2 separate regions of the Homo sapiens genome follow, and region 1 is linked to region 2. Evidence: promoter capture Hi-C in 16 types of primary human blood cells and fetal thymus (Javierre and others, 2016). All regions are on one chromosome and are shown on one strand. Each heading gives the region's core, a stretch centred on a gene start or on the middle of the fragment in contact. The rest is flanking DNA. Distances are from core to core; before and after follow the strand shown. Region 1 holds the start of MAPK1 (mitogen-activated protein kinase 1). Region 2 holds the start of YPEL1 (yippee like 1).

Region 1 (6,767 bases), core at 1-2,500, 130 kb after region 2:
AAAAAAAACCGTCACTATCATTTCACTTTTCTAAGGGACCTGAATCAAGATGAGGGAGTCTACGTGTGATTCTGCAAGAACTCCATTAAGGCTGCATACATAATGACCACTAAATCATTAACAGGAGTCCATAGCAATTGGGCTAAAACATCTGGGAGCATTTATGCTGGTAAAAGAGCTCACTTGGGGGCTAAAAAAAAAGTCAAATTAGGCCCAACTCTAAACGGATCTTTAACAAATCAAGAGAGTAATGTTAGTTTATCCTTCCTGAAACGCCAGCAGTACGATATTAAAATCCACTTAGAAGTAAAAACTTCAAGACGGAAATATGCCACCAACACTGGCGTCAGTAATCCATTTTAGAAAGCCTGCGCGGAGACCACCATTAGCACCGCTGAGGATATTTAATGAAAGCCGTTGGCTGCAAACAGAGGCGAAGAGAGAAAAACGATTATTTCGGTGTTCTGCACACACGCGGAGGCAAAACGCTTTCAGGACCTCAGCAGCCACCGCCGCCAACACCGACAAGCATCTGATGGAATTCACAGTTTTACAATCGAAAGTCCAAAAGAAGGCCATGATACTAGCAAATTGAGGGGTGGGGACCCTTCCGTTGCCTTCCCGAGGGTCCAGACTTTAAAGGCCGCGCTGCGCCCGGGGCCAAGGGTCCACTAGTACCGGCCTACGCCCCCCGCGCCACTCCCTGAGCCCCTTCCCGAGCGACCGAAGGCCCGGGAACCGCGAGCAACAACACCTAAACCTCAACCGGCCCGGGGCCGCGCCCGAGCCCTGGCGCGCGGACCGCGGTGAAGTCCGGGTTCGAGGTCGCCGCGGCGCCTGAGGCCGAGGCGCGGGCGAGGCCGAGGCTGCGTCCGCTGCGGCCCCGGGCGGTGGGGGGGCCGGGCGTGGCCGGTCGCGGACACTCACCACACCATGCCGTAGGCGCCCTCGCCGATGTACGAGAGGTTGGTGTAGCGCGGCCCCACGTCGAACACCTGCCCGCGGACCATCTCCGGGCCCGCGCCCGCCGCCGCCGCCGCCGCCATGTTGGCTGCCGGGCCGCCGCCGCCTCCGCCGCGCTGAGCTCGACGCTCGGCGGCCGCCGCTCAGCTCTTGTCGCCCCTCCCGCAGGGACTGCGCCGCCGCCGGTGCAGCCGCCGACGCTGACCGGGAGGAGGAAGGAAGACGCCGAGCGGGAGAGCTGAAGAGCCGACAGCCACTCGGACCGATTGCCTGCCTGCCTGCCAGACTGACGGGCGGGCCGGCGGGCGGGCGGAGGGAGGGGCGCGCGCCGAGGAGGGTGCCGGGGCGGGGACAAGAAGTGTGCATGCGGATTGGTTCCTCGCGGCTGGGGGCGGGGCCGCGCGGGCCGGCGGAAGCGGCGGGCTTCGGGAGGGGCACTGCGACGGCGTTGACTGAGGGGGCGCCACTAGGCGCGGTCACGTGCATTCGCGGTGCATTCGCGGGGGCGTCGGTGCGGGTCGCGTCTCTTAAGACACCCAGGGAGACAGACGTGGGGCAGAACTCATGGGCTGAAGTGAGAGATGGCTGGGGCCCAGGCGAGCGACCGAGCAGGGTCCGAACAGAGCCAGCGAGGGACCCCGGGCTGTGCTTGAGGCCCGACGACGCGCCATATCCCGGCAGCGCCGCAGCTCAGGCCTCTGCGAATCTGTGGTCCACACGCTGATAAACTTAGAGGCCTCTGCACTGGGGCAGAAACCGAAAGGCATGACCCAGACCGAGAAAGATATTTGCATACTGAGAAAGTGTGAAACACAATTGTCGAGACTAAAAGGAGACACTGAGAGGATACGCCAATCAGGTTAGTTCAGATGTTTGTTGAGCACACTCCATGTTCCTGGGGATCCACCCTTATAGAAGTTACCTTTTAGAGAGAGGAGACAGACAAATACGTGTAATGCTCAAGTTGTGATAAGTACGATGAAGAAGTACAAAGCAGAAGGGAGGGCGCGGTGTCTCACGCCTATCATCCCAGCACTTTGGGAGGCCGAGGCGGGCGGATCACTTGAGGTCAGGAGTTTGAGACCAGGTCTCTACTAAAAATACAAAAATTAAGTCCGGGCGAGGTGGCTCACGCCTGTAATCCTAGCACTTTGGGAGGCCGAGGCGGGCGGATCACGAGGTCAGGAGTTCAAGACCAGCCTGGCCAACATGGCGAAACCCTGTCTCTACTAAAAATACAAAAATTAGCCGGGCGCAGTGGTGGGCGCCTGTCATCCCAGCTACTTGGGAGGCTGAGGCAGGAGGACAAAGCAGAGAGTAAGGGATTAGGGGGTGGTGGGTCGAAACACATGAGAGATACATTTGCGTTCAGAGACAGACCGAGATTGGTACAGATAGGCAGAAATGCTGACAGAGCAGGTAATGAAATAGAAATGCAAAGATAGAGTCACTAAAACCAAAACATCGAGGTTTAGAGAAAAAGAGACACACCAGGTTAAGAAACAGTCACAAACAACAGAGGTTGAAAAAATAAAAATTAGAGTCCTGAAGCAGGTGGATACCAAGGAAAGCTAAGACAACGAGACGGACAATGACCCAGGCACTGCTTCTGAACCTTTTCCCCTGCCATGTTTGGAGGGAGAAGGAAGAGCGGCAGACCCTATATCCTCTTTGTTCAACTCTTCCAAGTTTAAAACCATCAACTCTTGACTTCTAGACATCAACAAAGATTAATTAGTCAATCTCAAAGGAGAATAAACAAAGTTTTTTGTTTGTTTGTTTGTTTAACTCTCTGGTGGAAGCTGGTGTGGTGGCTCACGCCTGTAATCCCAACTTGGGCCCAAGAATTCAAGACTAGCCTGGGCAACACAGCAATACCCTGTCTCTAAAACAGAGAAACAAACAAACAAAAAATCCTGTGGGGGAAAAAGGATGTGACACATGAGAAAAGGAATAAACTGCTCCAGCCAAAATTTACTCCTTCAAAATATATTTAGCCCATGAAGCAGGACCCAATTTTAGAAAATACCTAATTCTTGAGTTAATGGGTGCAGCACACCAGCATGGCACATGTATACATATGTAACTAACCAGCACATTGTGCACATGTACCCTAAAACTTAAAGTATAATAATAATAATAAAAAGAAAATACCTAATTCTTATTCTCAAAAGAGGACATTGCATATTTTTTTAAAAAACAGGCCAAGATAAATGGAGTACCATGAAATTAAAACCACAATAACCGGCCGGGCGCGGTGGCTCACGCCTGTAATCCCAGCACTTTGGGAGGCGGAGGAGGGCAGATTGCCCAAGCTCAGAAACTGGGGACCAGCCTGGGCAACATGGTGAAACCCCGTCTCTACTAAGATACAAAAAATTAGCTGGGCCTGCCGGTGTGCCTGTAGTCCCAGCTACTCGGGAGGCTGAGGCAGGAGAATTGCTTGAACTCGGGAGGCAGAGGTTACAGTGAGCTGAGATCGCGCCACTGCACTCCAGCCTGGGCCACAGAGTGAGACTCCGTCTCAAAAAAAAAAAAAAAAAAGAGGCCGGGTGCGGTGGCTCACGCTTGTAATCCCAGCACTTTGGGAGGCCGAGATGGGCGGATCACAAGGTCAGGAGATCGAGACCATCCTGGCTAACATGGTGAAACCTCGTCTCTACTAAAAATACAAAAAAAAAAAAAAAAAAAATTAGCCGGGCGTGGTGGCGAGTGCCTGTAGTCCCACCTACTCCGGAGGCTGAGACAGGAGAATGGCGTCAACCCGGGAGGCGGAGCTTGCAGTGAGCCGAGGTCACGCCACTGCACTCCAACCTGGGTGACAGAGCAAGACTCCGTCTCAAAAAAAAAAAAAAAAAAAGTAGACTTGATGCAGAAGAGTACATCAGCAATATAGAAGATAAACATGAGAAAATTTTCAAGAATATAGAACAAAGTGATGGAATCCTGTAAGAGAAGATAATGGGGATGGACAGCATCTAGGGATTCTAACTCTAGGCATCCCCACAGGAAGACAGAGCAAATCGGTTAGAGCGAATAATCAAAATTACAATAGGAGAAAAGTTTCCTTAGGTTGCAAAAAGGTCTGAGGTGGAGGTGGGAAATAGAGTGGGTTCACTGAGATTGAGAAAAATTAAGAAGAAACCAACAACACATAATCTGGGAAAATCATTAAGTTTCAGGGATAAAGAACAGACACTAATAGACCCAATTAGGGAAAAAAATGTTATTTATAAAAAAGCTGGCCAGCAGGCACGGTGGCTCGTGCCTGTAATCCCAGCACTTTGGGAGGCCGAGGCGGGCGGATCATGAGGTCAGGAGTTCTAGACCAGCCTGGCCAACATGGCGAAACCCCATCTCTTCTAAAAATACAAAAATTAGCTGGGTGTGGTGGTGTGTGCCTGTAATTCCAGCTTCTTGGGAGGCTGAGGCAGGAGAATTGCTTGAATCCAGGAGGTGGAGGTTGCAGTGAGCCGAGATCGTGCCACTGCACTCCAGTCTGGGCAACAGAGTGAGATTCCGTCTCCGGGGGAAAAAAAGATGGCTGGGCGAGGTGGCTCACACCTGTAATCCCAGCACTTTGGGAGGCTGAGGCGGGTGGATCACCTGAGGTCAGGAGTTCGAGACCAGCCTGGCCAACGTGGTAAAACCTTGTCTCTACTGAAAATACAAAAATTAGCCGAGCATGATGGCTGGCACCTGTAATCCTAGCTACTTGGGAGGCTAAGGCAGGAGAATCGCTTGAACCCGGAAGGCATAGGTTGCAGTGAGCCGAGATTGCACCATTGCACTCCAGTCTGGGTGATAAGAACGAGACTCCATTTAAAAAAAAAAAAAGCTAAAAACTGGCTTTATTCAGATTTTTCCTCTGCAACACTTAAAAGCCAAAGGAAAATAGAACAAGATTGACAACACTTTGAAGGGGTAGGTTTCGACCCTTCATAGATTCATAGATGGTGGCAAGAACGAGACTCCATCTCAAAAAAAAAGCTAAAAACTGGCTTTCTTCAGATTTCTCCTCTGCAACACTTAAAAGACAAAGGAAAATAGAACAAGATTGACAACACTTTGAAGGGGTAGATTTTGACCCTTCATAGATGATTTCATTCACTCCAGTGCCTTAATTCCTCCTAGATCTTTTTTTTTTTTTTTTTTTTTTGGAAAATTATATATAAAAGGAGACGGGGGCCAGGCGCGGTGGCCCACGCCCATAATTCAGCACTTTGGGAGGCCGAGGTGGGCGGATCACCTGAGGTCAGGAGTTTGAGATAAGCCTGGCCAACATGACAAAACCCTGTCTCTACTAAAAATACAGAAAAATTAGTTAGGCATGGTGGCTCATACCTGTAATCCCAGCTACTTGGGAGGCTGAGGCGGGAAGGTCTCTTGAACTCAGGAGGTGGAGGTTGCAGTGAGCAGAGATCACACCACTGCACTCTAGCCTGAGTAACAGAGTGAGACTCCATCTCAAAAAAAAAAAAAAAATAGAGAGAGACGGGGTCTCACTTGTTGCCCAGGCTGGTTTTGAACTCCTGGCCTCAAACCATTCTCCTACTTCAGCCTCCCAAGTAACTGGGACTATTGGTATGCACCTCCTTCCTCCCAGATCTTTTTTTTTTTTTTTTGAGACAGAGTCTCACTCTGTTGCCCAGGCTGGAGTGTGGTAGGGTGATCTCGGCTCACGGCAACCTCCACCTCCCAGGTTCAAGCAATTTTTCTGCCTCAGCCTCCCGAGTAGCTGGGATTACAGGCATGCACCACCACGCCCAGCTAATTTATTTTTTGTACTTTTAGTAGAGGCGGGGTTTCACCATATTGGCCAGGCTGGTCTCAAACTCCTGACCTCGTGATCTGCCCACCTCGGCCTCCCAAAGTGCTAAGAATACAGGTGTGAGCCACCGTGCCCCTCATTTCCTGGATCTTTATTGCTCAGAAGATCTCTCCTGAATTCCAGGTCAGCATGTCCACCTGCACACAGGACAGCTCCATGTGACATCCCACAGGTGTTTCAGTGCCACAAATTTAAACCACCATTGGTTAACTGCATGAGTTCTGTGCTGAGACTGTTTGAATCTTGGCTGCTCTGCTTACCAGCTGTGTGACCTTGTCCTCATTTTCCTCAGACTTAAAATGGGATCACAATAATGCCTACCTCACATAAGTCTGTTGGACAGAGTACATAAGACAACATATGTGAAGAGCCTGACACATATTATGTTATGTACCCACTAAATGTTATCTGTTACCTACCTCACCTAAACCTGTTGTTTATCTTGTATCTGTGGATAGCATCACCTTCACCCAGACACTTAAGTTGGAGAGTTCACTATAATCTTTAACAACACATTTTACCTCAAGCCTTACCCTGTACCCCATCCAATCAATTATGAACTATAAATTCTGTTTCTTTAATAGTTCAGAAATCTTTACTACCTAAAGTCTGATCTCCAGGCCAGGTGTGGTAGCTCATGTGTGTAATCCCAGCACTTTGGGAGGCTGAGGCAGGAGGATTGTTTGAGCTCAGGAGTTTGAGACTGGGCAACATAGGGAGACCCCATCTCTACATAAAATTTTACAACTAGCCAGGTGTGGCCGGGTGTGGTGGCTCACATCTATAATCCCAGCACTTTGGGAGGCCGAGGTGGCGTGGATCGCTTGAGGTCAGGAGTTCAAGACCAGCCTGGCCAACATGTTGAAACCCTGCCTGTACTAAAAATACAAAAATTAGCTGGGTATGGTGGTGGCATGCACCTGTAATTCCAGCTACTCAGGAGGCTGAGGCAGGAGAATCACTTGAACCTGAG
Region 2 (7,214 bases), core at 3,153-5,652:
GGTTGAAAGAGTGGGTACCACACCCAGAAGACTGGATTGAGATAGAAGAAAAGAGGTTGAGAATCTTAAAAACTACTTTATTTACCCTCATGCTAAATAAAGTCTCATCAGACATTAAAGGCCCTGTCTTGGGGCAAGAGAAGGGGGGAAAAAAAAAAAAAAAAACAGATACACAAAGAGGAACCAGAAAAGGTGAGGGGGAAGCGTTTGGGTGGCGGGGGTATATGCCAATGCTGCTGAGAAGGCAGGTGGCACCACGAGGGAGGGAGTAGGTGAGGTTTGGCAACAGGGATGTCATCACCCCCAGGACAAAGGTGAAAGAGGGTCTGACTTGCTTTGAGAGGCTTCCCAGGCTTTGATGCAAAATGTGCCACGTGTTTGTTGGCTCTGGGACCTGAAGCCAAGTTCTGCTACCTTCTTTGTAAAGTGGGGTAACGTGCAATTTACAGGGCAGTCAGAGTCACATGAGATGTTAAGGGGGATGATCCTTGGGCACAGTTTAGGTGTCTGACCAGGGCCTTACGGCAGGAGCATGTGTCACTGTTACAGGACGGCAGGGGCTCAGCAAGCACCTCACAAGCCCCACCAGGAATCCCGGCCCCGGCCCAAGGCCCTGCAGGTGCCAGAGGGCCTACTGAGCAATGGGGTGAATAACGGCTCCTAACCCCTTTCTGGGGTGTGGGCAACAGTGGTTGGCTCCAGGATTTCCATTTTACTCTCACCTGCCAACAGGTTTTTGGTACTCAGCATCTGTATAGCAGGTGTAACGTCCTGGCATTTGCTGGCGGAATCGATTTCACCCTCTTGACTTCTTTCCTGAATCTATCTCGCACTGCTTGCTCCAAAAACCCTTAGCCCTCTATGTCTTGGCTATTGAGAACTTTCTTCAACCTCCGCTCAAATCTCTTGTCAAAATTCCCACTCCCTAGAGCTTTCACTGATTATTAGATCTAACTACTTAAAAACATTTACGTCAACTTCATTTAACTCTAATGAAAAGCATCACAGAACAGTTTGAAAGCAGGGGGGCTTCTATTGCTTCTTCATATTCAAAACAATTTTGTTTATTAGTCTTCCATGGAGACAAATATGTTAAAACTACAGGGTTGGCCAGGCGCGGTGGCTCACGCCTGTAATCCCAGCACTTTGGGAGGCCGAGGCAGGCGGATCACTTGAGGTCAGGAGATTGAGGCCATCCTGGCCAACCTGGTGAAACCCCGTCTCTATTAAAAATACAAAAATTAGCTGGCTGTTGTGGCGGGTGCCTGTAGTCCCAGCTACTCAGGAGGCTGAGACAGGAGAATCGCTTGAACCCGGGAGGCGGAGGCTGCACTGAGCCGAGATCACGCCACTGCACTCCAGCCTGGCGACAGAGTGGGACTCTGTCTCAAAAATAACAACAACAACAAAAACAAACAAACAAACTGCAAGGTAGGCTGGGCTCACACCTGTAAATCCCAACACATCGGGAGGCTGAGACTGGAGGATCACTTGAGGCCAGGAGTTTGAGATCAACCTGGGCAACACAGTGAGAACCCCAAACCTCATATCTACCAAAAAAAATTTTTTTTTTATATAGCTGGGCATGGTGGTGCACACCCACAGTCCCAGCTACTCAGAAGGCTGAGGCTGTAGGATTGCTTGAGCCCAAGAGGTTGAGGCTGCAGTGAGCTATGATTGTGCCACTGTACCCCAGGCTTGAGTGACAAAGCAAGACTCTGTCTCTCTAATATAACAAAACAAGGCTGGGCACTGTGGCTTACACCTGTAATCCCACCACTTTGGGAGGCTGAGGGGTGGCAGATCATCTGAGGTCAAGAGTTTGAGACCAGCCTGGGCAACATGGTGAAACCCTGTCTCTACTAAAAATACAAAATTAGCTGGGTGTGGTGGCACATGCCTGTAATCCCAGCTACTCGGGAGGCTGAGACAGGAGAATCGCTTAACCCTGGAGGTGGAGGCTGCAGTGAGCCGAGATCATGCCACTGCACTCCAGCCTGGGTGAGACAGAGCGAGACTCTGTCTCAAAAAATAAACAAATAAAGTAACAAAACAAAACTAACTGGGGGTGGTGGCTCACACCTATAATCTCAGCACTTTGGGAGGCAAGGGGGGAGGATCGCTTCAGCTCAGGAGTTTGAGACCAGCAACAGAGTGAGATCCTGTCTCTACAGAAAAATCAAAAAATTAGCTGGGTATGGTGGTGTGTGCCTGTGTTTCCAGCTACTCAGAAGGCAGGTGGATGGCTTGAACCTAGGAGGTTGAGGCTGCAGTGAGTGGAGACAGTGCCATTATACTCCAGCCTGGGTGACAGAATGAGACCTTGTCTCAAAAAACCAATTTGTTTGTTGAAATAAACAAACCAAAACAAACCAACAAAAAAAGAAAGAAAAAAGGAAAAAACCTATAGGGTAGCCTCTTTCCCTTTTCCTGCATCCCTGCCCCTTGACACAGGTGCTGGTGGAACTTAGTGAAGACAGGCAAGAATCAAGAACAGATGTTAGAGGAACACTGCTCTCAACCTAAAGAAAATAGCTTTATGGTGAGGTATAGCAGCTCAAGCCTGTAATCCCAACACTTCAGGAGGCTGAGGCAGGTGGATCACTTGAGCCTAGGAGTTCAAGACCAGCCTGGGAAACATTAAGTGAGACCCCAGTCTCTACAAAAAAAAATGTAAAGTTAACCAGTCATGGTGGTGTGCACCTGTAGTCCTAGCTACATGGGAGGCTGAGGCAAGAGGATCACTTGGGCTCAGGATGTGGAGGTTGCAGTGAGTCGTGTTTGTGCCACTGCACTCCATCCTGAGCAAGAGTGAGACCCTGTCTCAAACAAAGAAACAAACAGAGAAATGGCTTTATAAATTACAGTGATTCAAAGGTGAAAAGGCTTAATACCCACAGTTTAGTGACAAGAATGCACCCAGGTGTTTTTCATATTGGCAAGTGTACCACAGCAGTGTAGGATGGGGTAAGGATAGGGAGCACTGGGTGTAGGATATATTGGGATTGTCTGTACTATCTTTGCAACCTTTATGTAAATTTAAAGTTTTTCCAAAATAAGAAGTTATTTTAAAAGAAGACTATTGCTCAGATTGGTAATTAAGAGCGCTCAGTTATTATATAAATGCTCAATATGGGCCCAACCCGTAGGGGTTCCCACAAGTAGATGAGACTCTACCCTGTAGGGCCCAAGAGGAAACACCATGAAGGTCCTGGAGATCCTCTTATTCCTCAAACATGCCACTACCATTGCCTCGCAAGAGCCCTGAGGGGGACCAGTGCATGATTGTAAGACAAAATGACATCAGGATTAAGCACAGCTCCTGGCACCTGGCAGGGGCTCAGCAAACATTTGTCACATCTATAGCTTGCTCAGGTGAGGTGCCTGGAAAGTCTCCCCAGTGGTGGTAAACCTAGTCTTGGGACCTGAGTAGGGAATTAGGAGTGTCAGGGGCTGGTGGGTGGGAAGAATAACATTCTTAGCAAAGGAAACATCAGGTTAAGGTGGGTATGTTTTAGATAGAGGAAGAAGAAATGCAACGGAACAGAAAAAGCGTGGGGCGGGGAAATTGATGTCTTCCATGTTCATTATCTGCCTAAAATAGAATCTCAGCCTTTTTTCCATCCTTAGAATTCAGCACATAATTTGGACATCAAAGATGTCAATCAGAGCCAAGCATGGGGGAGGCGGACCCTGTTTAGATCTCTGAAGCTCAGGCTTTTGCAATCTCTGTTAACGAAACCTATGCCACAAGTGGTAAATACCGAGGACGCTCCATTTTAGTCATGATCTTTATGTGGCTACTTGAAAAGCTTTTCCGCCTTTCTGATAAACATTCCTAGGAGACCTCTTTTGCCCTCATTTCCTTGCCCAGTTGAGGCTGTATTTTTTAAGGAAGGAAAATCCAAAAATCAGGGATCTTGTCCATTTTCCCTATCTTTTCACGGCGGGGCGGGAGAAGAGGGACAGCGGGGGAGGTGGAGAGAAGAAACGGCGGGGGAATCAAAGATTAGGCGTTGTTGTCTGTGCCAAAACGGAGTGAGCCCAATATCAACAAATCAAAATCCAAAACGGAACAAAAAAGTCACAGGCCCGCCCTGCTCGCGCCCCCGCCCGCCCGGACGCCCAACAGGTGCTTCCCGGGCCCGCCCGCAGCCACAGTATCCTTGGGTGGCCACAAAGTAACCGCCCGCGCAGCTGCAGCCAGGCCCGCCCGTACTCACGGCCGCTCCGCGGTCCGCGCCCCGGCCCGCAGCGCCCATCCGGCCCGGGCCCCGGTCAGCGCGGGCTCGGCTCTCAGGCGTTCCCGGCGCGGCCCGGGACGCGCTGAGGCCGTTAACGCCTAGGCAGGGCGCGAGGCATCCTCCCGCCGCCGCCCCGCGGGCCGCCTGCCCTTTGTTTTGGAGCCGTAGCCCGGCCCAGACGCCGTTAACAGCCTTGGAGCGCGGCGCCGGCCAATCAGCGCGCCATGTCGCCAGCGCCCCGCCCCCATCCTGCCTCCGTTCCGCCCCGCGTCCCGCCTGCCCCGCGCGCCCCCGCCCCGCGCGCTCCGGGCCAAGGAGCTCCGCCAGCTCGCACCCGGCCGGGACGGGCAGGAGCCCACGTGCCGCGGGGCGCGCCGCACTCCCATTGGCTGACCCGCCGGGCGCGGCCTCGGAGCCAGCCTGTAAGGGCCGAGGGACACGGGGGCGGGGCCGCGCGGGGCGGGGCGAGAGCAGGGGCGGGTTCCGCGAGGAGCGCCGCGCTCGGACGCAGGCTGGCTGGGCAGGGACACTCGGCCGGCGGGGCTGGCGGTGGTGGTCACTCGTTCCTCCGGCTCGCGGGGATGGGCCGAGGGCGTGCAGGGCCCGCAGCTCCAGAGGCTGAGGCGAGCTTGCGCGCAGCCTCCTCGTCCAGCGCCGTGCACGTACCGCCCGTCCGCGCGGTCGGCCGCGTTGTAGGGGACGGACGTGGAGGCCGAGGCGAGCTTGTGTGCGCCTGACCAGGGCCCGCCTTGGCCGGACCCCTCCGCGGCCGGGTCCCCAGAATGCGGTCGTCCGTGCTGTCCCGTCCCCACCACCCTCTCTGAACCCAAGGACCTAACCCCCTAGGACCCCCTCGCCACGGAGGACCCCCCGGGTCTGCGTCTGGCCCCTCGCTCTGCTCCAGGACTGCCGCGTCAGACCCTACAGAAAGCCCCTTCCTCTGGGTAGTGCTCCCGACGCCCCGGCAGCCTGCGCCACCCCCACGCCTCTAATGTCACTGTTTTCTTGGTTCCGTATCCCTTCTTTAAAAAAATATATATTATTTGAAAATAGATATGTATTATTTGAATATATATATTTGAAGGCTGGGTGTGGTGGCTCACGCCTGTAATTCCAGTACTTTGGGAGGCCGAGGCAGGAGGATCATTTGAGCCCAGGAGTTCAAGAGCAGCCTGGGCAACATAGTGAGACACTGTACCAAAAAAAAAAAAAGAAAGAAATTAGGCATGGTGGTGCACACCTGTAGTCCCAGCTACCTGTGAGGCTGAGGCGGGAGGATCACTTGAGCCCAGGAGGTCGAGGCCTCAGTGAGCCATGATCGCGCTACTGCACTCCAGACTGGGTGACAGAGCGAGACCCTTCCTCTTGAACAAAAAAAAAAAAAAAGAAAAGAAAAAAACCAAGAAAACAACAAAACCTCTATTGAGGTCACAATGTATATAACATTGTTATCAGCGTCCTCTGGACGTATTCTCTTGTTTTCTGCAACCCACTGTGTATGTAAAGATCTCTTCAAGTCGCTAAATGTACACCTGACTCATAACTTAGATTGTGGCTGGATGTTGCCTTTTTTTTTTTTTTTTTTTTTTTCCTTGAGACAGGAGTCTCGCTGTGTCGCCCAGGCTGGAGTGCAGTGGTGTGAGCTTGGCTCACTGCAACCTCCTCCTCCTGGGCTCAAGCGATTCTCCTGCCTCAGCCTCCCCAGTAGCTGAGACTACAGTTGCCCGCCACTAGGCCCGGCTAATTTTTGTATTTTTAGTAGAGACGGGGTTTCACCATATTGGCCAGGCTGGTCTCGAATTCCTGACCTCAAGTGATCCGCCTGCCTCGGCCTCCCAAAGTGCTGGGATTACAGGCATGAGCCCACGCGCCCGGCCCCATTTAACTATTTTAAAGTGTACAGTTCACTGGTATTAAATACATTCATAATGTTGTGCAACCATCATCATCATCCCTCTCCAGAACTCATCTTGCCTAAGTAAAGCTCTGGACTCAAGAAACAATGACTCCCGTTTCCTTCTACCCCATGCCCCGCACCACCCCATTCTACTTTCTGTCCCTATGAGCTTGACTGCTCTAGGTGCCTCACATAAGTGAAATCATCTAGTATTTGTCTTTTTGTGGCTTACTGTGACTTTTGTGGCTCATTTCACTTAGCATAATGTCTGCAAGGTTCACCGATGGTGTAGCACTGTCACAGTTTCCTTCCTTTTTTTAGGCTGAATGATATTCCATTGTATGTAGATACCACATTTTGTTTCTCCACGCATCTGTCAGTGGACACCTGGCTTGCTGCTTCCATACTTTAGCTATTGTAAATAATGCCACTATGAACTTGATGGTACAAACATCCCTTGGCACCCCTGGTTCCAATTATTTTGGGTATATACCCAGAAGTGAAGTTGCTGGATCATATGGTAGTTCTATGTTGAATTTTTTAAGGCGATTACATACTGTTTCCCAACGTAACTGCACCATTTCACATTCTCTCCAACAGTGTACAAGGCTTCCAGTTTCTGCACATCTTCACCAACTGTTATTTTCTGTTTTTTGACAGTGGCCAGCCTGGTGCATGATGGGTTTGGTTTGCACTTGCCTCGTGATTAGTGGTGTTGAGCATCTTTCCGCGGACTTGGTGGCGTCAAGTGTTGTTAACTATGACCACGTGACCACATGACCTATTTCATTTTATCTGTACAACGTTTCTGTTTGGGGTGATAAAAAAATTTGGAATTGGTAGTGGGAATGGCTGTACAACAATGTGAATGCCACTGAATTGCACCCTTAAAATTGTTACAATGGGCCGGGTGTGGTGGCTATGCCTATAATCCCAGCACTTTGAGAGGCCCAAGTGGGCAGATCACCTGAGGTCAGGAGTTCAGGACAAGTCTGGCCAACATGGTGAAACCACCGTCTCTACTAAAAAAAAAAAATGCAAAAAAAATTAGCTGGGCGTGGTGGTGTGTGCCC

The links. Contacts are between HindIII fragments. The CHiCAGO score rates a contact against its expected background, and 5 or more counts as called.
Region 1: the fragment with the promoter of MAPK1 here is called in contact with the fragment with the promoter of YPEL1 in region 2 in 4 of 17 cell types (neutrophils, endothelial precursors, M2 macrophages and 1 more); the score reaches 9.6 in neutrophils.

What each region holds. Positions count from the first base shown.
Region 1 is chr22:21,866,395-21,873,161 of GRCh38, forward strand. MAPK1 (mitogen-activated protein kinase 1) reads right to left here and starts at 1,251. Exons shown (of 9, transcript NM_002745.5): 1 at 928-1,251. The coding sequence starts at 1,046. RefSeq lists a silencer at 1,182-1,421. The HindIII fragment of the contact is 41,836 bases long and covers 1-6,767 here.
Region 2 is chr22:21,731,392-21,738,605 of GRCh38, forward strand. YPEL1 (yippee like 1) reads right to left here and starts at 4,403. Exons shown (of 5, transcript NM_013313.5): 1 at 4,224-4,403. RefSeq lists silencers at 4,052-4,101, 4,122-4,971. The HindIII fragment of the contact is 25,539 bases long and covers 3,811-7,214 here.